Regions from separate parts of the Homo sapiens genome. Here region 2 is linked to region 1. The links are contacts of gene promoters, found by promoter capture Hi-C in human tissues and cell types (Jung and others, 2019). All regions are on one chromosome and are shown on one strand. The core of a region is centred on a gene start or on the middle of the fragment in contact, and the rest is flanking DNA. Distances in the headings are between cores, read along the strand shown.

The links. The method cuts DNA at HindIII sites, captures the fragments that hold promoters and counts their contacts. A contact is called where the count stands out against the background at its distance.
Region 2: a fragment that was not itself captured here is called in contact with the fragment with the promoter of CENPM in region 1 in 1 of the 25 tissues and cell types used here (dorsolateral prefrontal cortex).

What each region holds. Positions count from the first base shown.
Region 1 is chr22:41,945,546-41,948,565 of GRCh38, forward strand. It overlaps CENPM (centromere protein M), which reads right to left and starts at 1,607. Exons shown (of 6, transcript NM_024053.5): 1 at 1,475-1,607; 2 at 872-951; 3 at 368-460. The coding sequence starts at 1,531. It also overlaps a transcript of SMIM45 not described here. RefSeq lists an enhancer at 1,411-1,620. The HindIII fragment of the contact is 14,723 bases long and covers 1-3,020 here.
Region 2 is chr22:42,607,653-42,610,672 of GRCh38, forward strand. The region is part of intron 1 of POLDIP3 (DNA polymerase delta interacting protein 3); the gene reads right to left. LOC124905127 (a long non-coding RNA gene) reads right to left here. Exons shown (of 2, transcript XR_007068118.1): 2 at 1,083-1,310. Among named protein-coding and RNA genes, the nearest start is that of POLDIP3, 5.7 kb to the right of the region's middle. The HindIII fragment of the contact is 5,591 bases long and covers 1-3,020 here.

The DNA of each region.
Region 1 (3,020 bases), core at 357-2,856:
GTTCAAATGATTCTCCTGCCTCAGCCTCCCGAGTAGCTGGGACTACAGGTACATGCCACCACGCCTGGCTAATTTTTGTATTTTAGTAGAGACGGGGTTTCACCATGTTGCCCAGGCTGGTCTCGGGCAATCTGCCCACCTTGGCCTCCCAAAGTGCTGGGATTACAGGTGTGAGCCATTGTGCCCGGCCGTTGTGTATTTTAAACATTGTGCACTGACCACTGGCTCCTCTCTCCTCACCTTACAGATTGACCTCAGCCAGCCTCTCCCATCCTCACCACTTCCCATCACAAGTTAGGTCACCGTCTCAGCACAGTCCTGAGCCAGGCCTGCCTGAGCCCTGACTGCCCCTTCCTCTGGCTCTCACCTGTATTTGCTGTGAAGATTAACCACAAACACGATCAGGTCAATTCGGGGCCGATTCACACTGGAGGGCAAAGGGAGGGACTTTGCCAAGTGGCTGAAAAACAGGAAATTGCAGGACTCAAGATATCCGTACCCCCCTCATAGCGACCGTTTAAATGCTGCCCTTCATGTGGAAAGAGGCCGTCAAGGGCTCCCCACCTCATCCTAGCCACCCGAGGCTCTTGTGGCCACGACTCCTTGGGCCAGCACAGAGGCAGGACAGGTCCGGTCCTATTCAGATTACTCCTGTCTGATTCCCTCTGCCAGAAACGGGCTCTGTTTAGTCACCACCTCGGCAAGGGGAGGTTGGGATATAAGACGGCATGGGACTAGCCAGCTACGCTGCATGCTGGGAGAAGGACCAGCCTCAGAGGAGGGGGCGCTGGGCTTCGGAGTTTAGCAGCTAGGACCGAATCCCTCTGGAGTGAGAGACACGTGGGCCCAGGCCACAGCCGCGGCTACTTACACCTTCAGCTCGGAGGCGCAGTCCTCTTTGAGCATCGAGTCCGCCAGCTGCTGCAGAAGAGCATCCTCCGTGCCCACCAGCTGCGCAGGGAGAGAGAGCGGACAGTCGAGCCCTAGGCACAGCACCCCCTGGGGAGGGCCTGGCCCTTCGACCCACTCCCGGGGGGATCGGGACACCGCCAGCAGGCGGCTCGGAGGACATTTCCCGAGAAGTGGACCCCGCGAAGCGGCACGGGCTGGGGGCCTGAGGTTTGGACCCGCTGCAGGCCTGTGGGCACCGCACTCTCTACTACCCGACCCTCGCTCCCACCGCCGGCCTCTCCAGGAGGCCAGACCCCCAGACGCGGGAAAACCAATTCCAGGCGCGGGAACTCGCCAATCAGAAGCTGGGAAAGGGTCCGCCGAGCACCTATTGGTGGGTGCGTCCCTCAACCTCAGAGAGCGGCTACTCCAATTGGTTCAGAGCATGGCTCTCCGCCTATTCCCCGCCCCCGCCACGGTAGCGCGCGCTGGCTTGGCGCCTCAGAGAGCTCAGTTGACCTAGTGGCTGAAGCACCGCCCAGGAGGAAAAACCGGCGGGGGAAGCAGGGCCGCCTGCACCTACCAAGATGGTGGCCGTGTTCAGGCCGGGCAGCTTGTCCAGGGGCCTCAACACCGACATCACAGCCGCAGGACCAACCGTTGCTCCTGCGGTGCGCGCCGATCTTTCAAACCGCCCTGAGTCCAGCCCCTAGAGCGCGGCCTGGGGGCACGTGCCTCCTTATAGGCGGGGCTTCGCGGGACGGGACGGGGCCTCTTAAAGGAACCGAACCTTTATCTCCTTTTCTGAGGGGCGTTCCAGCGCTACCCGTGGAACACGTGGTGGACAGGCCTTTGGTTCCACGCTCCACAGTAAGCAGGTTTTTAGTGATTCCTTTGTTCACTTTCATTCATTCATGCTCATACACAGTACTTTTTTTTTTTTTTTTTGAGACAGAGTCTCGCTTTGTGGCCCAGGCTGGAGTGCAATGCGCGCAATCTCGGCTCACTGCAACTTCTGCCTCCCGAGTTTAAGCGATTCTCCTGCCTCAGCCTCCCAAGGAGCTGGGACTACGGGCGCGCGTCACCACGCCCGACTTATTTTTTTATTTTTAGTAGAGACGGGGTTTCTCCAAGTTGCCCAGGCCGGTCTCAAACTCCTGGCCTCAAGTGATCCCGCCTCGGCCTCCCAAAGTGAGTGCTGAGATTACAGACGTGAGCCACCGTGCCTGGCCCTTTTTTTTTTTTTTTTTTTGGAGCGTCACTTTGTTGCCCAGGCTGGACTATAGTGACACGATCATAGCTCACTACAGCTTCAAACTCCTGGGCTCAAGTCATCTTCCTGGCTTAGCCTCCTGAGTAGCTGGAACTACAGGCAAGTGCCACCATGGGGATCTGGCCATGTTGCCCAGGTGGGTCGTAAACTCCTGGCCTCAAGCAGCCCTCCTGCTTCAGCCTCCTGAGTAGCTGGGACTACCGCTGCACACCAGCAGGCCCTGCCAATTGACTGCTTTTACAGTGAGTGGTAAGCATGCTGTTCTTTGTCCAATGGGAGACTTTACCTCATCTTTCAAGGTTCCTTGCTGCAAACACAGCCTGAGTACAGAGCTGTCAGGGTCTTGCTTTCTTGACATACCCAGCAAGAACATGCAGGGACGCTCAGGGCCCATAGCAAACTGGTTCTGCCAACAGTTATATAATAACTTGTTCACTGTCTCTACATCTAAAATGTAAGAAACAAGAGGTTAGAGACTTTGTCACTTTGTATGTCCAGCACTCTAAAAGTCCCTGGTACATCGTAGTTAATAAATATTTGTTGAGTGAATGGATGGATTACATTCATCCATTCATTCTCAGCAGTCATTCATTCATCATTTCCTATGCCCAGACCCAATGCCCTACCCTAGGAAGTCAGTTGAATCAGACATTATTGATTAACTTAGTTTGATGGGGGTGGGATAGACAATGATAACAGTGTGTTCATTGTTGTAATAACTGGGAGAGCAGAGACACTGTCTAGCCTAAATCCTTCTTACTGCAGACTAAACTAACTGTGTCTTGCTCAGAAAGATCAGGACGTAAATGGCCCCATAGAGCCACTGCCCTCAGCACAGATACGGCTTTCATTCCTC
Region 2 (3,020 bases), core at 258-2,757, 660 kb after region 1:
AGGAAGTGAGGAGCGTCTCGGCCCGGCCGTCCATCGTCTGAGATGTGGGGAGAGCCTCTGCCCCGCTGCCCCGTCTGGGATGTGAGGAGCGCCTCTGCCCGGCCGCGACCCCATCTGGGAACTGAGGAGTGTCTCTGCCCGACCGCCACCCCGTCTGGGAGGTGAGGAGCTTCTCTGCCCGGCCACCCCGTCTGGGAAGTGAGGAGCCCCTCCGCCCAGCAGCCGCCCCGTCTGGGAAGTGAGGAGCGTCTCCGCCCGGCAGCCGCCCCGTCTGGGAGGGAGGTGGGGGGCAGCCCCCGCACAGCCAGCCGCCCTGTTCGGGAGGTGGGGGGCGCCTCCACCCAGCCACCACCCCGTCTGGGAAGTGAGGAGCCCCTCTGCCCGGCCGCCACCCCGTCTGGGAGGTGTACCCAACAGCTCATTGAGAACGGGCCATGAAGACGATGGCGGTTTTGTCGAATAGAAAAGGGGGAAATGTGGGGAAAAGAGAGATCAGATTGTTACTGTGTCTGTGTAGAAAGAAGTAGACGTGGGAGACTTCATTTTGTTCTGTACTAAGAAAAATTCTTCTGCCTTGGGATGCTGTTAATCTATAACCTTACCCCCCCCCCCAAAAAAAAATTAGCTGCAAGTGATGATGCACATCTGTAGTCCCAGCTACTCAGAAGGCCAAGGCAGGAGGATCAACTAAGCCCAGGAGGTCCAGGCTGCAGTGAGCCAAGATCACACCACTGGACTCCAGCCTGGGAGACAGAACAAGACCCTGTCTCAAAAATCAAAACAAAACAAAACAAAAAAAAACCACCACCACCAAAACAAAAAGAAACAATCTTCCTTATCATTATTGTCTGGTATTTCAGTTTCAATATGTTGTTAAACCCTTAAAAATTTATACATATATATAAAGGAAGGATAAACAGTCCGCAGGCTGAAGAAATCTTAGGACTCCGGTCATGCCCAGGGATACGGAGCACTCTCTAGCGACCAAAGGGTGAGCACAAGCAGCGAGGCGAGCGGGTGGTGCACGCACTGAGAACTCGCATACCACAATGCCTGCCTGGCAGGAAGGACCACCAAGATGCTTTGTGCTGGCATTTTTATCTATTTGAACAGCCTAAAAGGCACATTTAGGGGTGGGAGTTAACGGTAGTTGAGGATGTAGTAGGAGCTCCTCACGGTGGGAGGGAGTAAGCTATTTCCCTCAATCTGATGCACTCAGTTCCCTGGTTCCACCAGTGCTTTCAACTTCTTTCGTGAACAGCTTGAGGGGGCTTCAGTGTTCAGGCTTTTTATAATCACAGCTGCTCTTCCTGCATGAAAAGACAGCTATTCATCCCAGCAGGCAGCAGTACTGGTTTCAGGCAGGCATTAGTCATCGGAAATTTTTCAAATCAACACTCCTGCCAGGGGTAGGTCTCTAAAACACAGACTCAATTATGTTACCCTCCCGCTTCTAGAACTGCTGGGGGCTCCTTTACAAAGCCCAACCCCTGGGGGGGCCTCGGCTCTGGCTCCAGCTTATGGCTGCAGCCTTACTCCCCACTGCAGTGACTACTGACGTTCCCAAAACACATCCTGCACTTTTATCCTCAGTAAATGTTTGGGAGGGCGAAGGAGGAAGGTTTTGACTGAGTCTCGTAATGCCCCACCTCCATCGCACCGAAACTACAGCTCTGCAACTGCTTCCAGGGCTTCACCAGGTATTCCGCGAGGTCCTGGCAAGAGCGCTGCTGGCAGGTGAGAAGGCAAACGTTCCCTGGACCCCAAATTCTCTCCTCTATACCCCCTACGGGAACCTGGCATAGGTGTGATGACCAGGGAGGGTCTGTCTGGGCTATAGGAATATTTCACCCTCCTGGCTCTGTCTGGGGAGGGCAGGGCTACAGCCCATTCTGGACAGATGTCCAGTCCAAAAGATTCAGGCCCATGAAGTGGGGCCCTGGATTATTATAAAGCAGATTTTAACCCATGGGTTTAAAATCCTCTGGGTTATGGGAGGCAGAGGTTGCCATGAGCCAAGATCGCACCACTGCACTCCAGCCTGGGTGACAGAGCAAGATTCCGTCTTATAAAAACAAACAAAAAAAGCTTCTGGGTTAGGGGGTGTTCGTTTAGGTGTGTGTTTAGGTCATTTTTATAGAGAGAAAACAGCTTAATTCTAACTATGACTGAGGGTCAACTCTGAATTAGGTGTTTAAGAGACACAAAGAAAAACAAGACACTAAAATACTATCCCCTGCTGGGCGAGGTGGCTCACGCCTGTAATCCCAAGCACTTTGGGAGGCTGAGATGGGCGGATCACTTGAGGTCAGGAGTTTGAGACCAGCCTGGCCAACATGGTGAAACCCTGTCTCTACTAAAAATACAAAAAATTAGCCGGGCGTAGTGGCCCATGCCTGTAGTCCCAGCTACTCAGGAGGCTGAGGCAGGAGAATCGTTTGAATCCAGGAGGTGGAGGTTTCGGTGAGCTGAGATCGCGCCATTGCACTCCAGCCTGGGCAGCAAGAGCAAAACTCTGTCTCAAAAATAAATAAATAAAATAAAATACTATCCCCTTACCCAAGAGTCTTGTGCAGATGTTTCATTTTAAAACATAATTCGTTCCCTAGAGTTATGTAATAACTCATTTCCTCCCTTTTGTGTTTAGGTCTTTATTTCCTTTATCTTATTTCAACAAGGAAACAAGCAGTCAGTACCAGGACCAGAGTCCTGGGCTGAACTGCAAAGTTTACAATCCACCCTGTCCCCCAACAACCTCCCACTTCCAGCTCCAAGGACTCCCCAGATGAGGCGTCTGGCCCAGAGAGCTGCTCAACTCCAGCCTCCAGCACATTCAAGGCTGCCACACTGAACTGCTTGGAGGCAGCTGACAGAAAGCTATCCGCTGAGGGTTAAACTCATCGAACTAACAAAAGCGGACATGTCAACTGACTTAACTGGGGATGCCCTCATATCTAAAGGAAGAAACTGCTGGGCACAGTGGCTCACACCTGTAACCCCAGCACTTTGTGAGGCAGAGG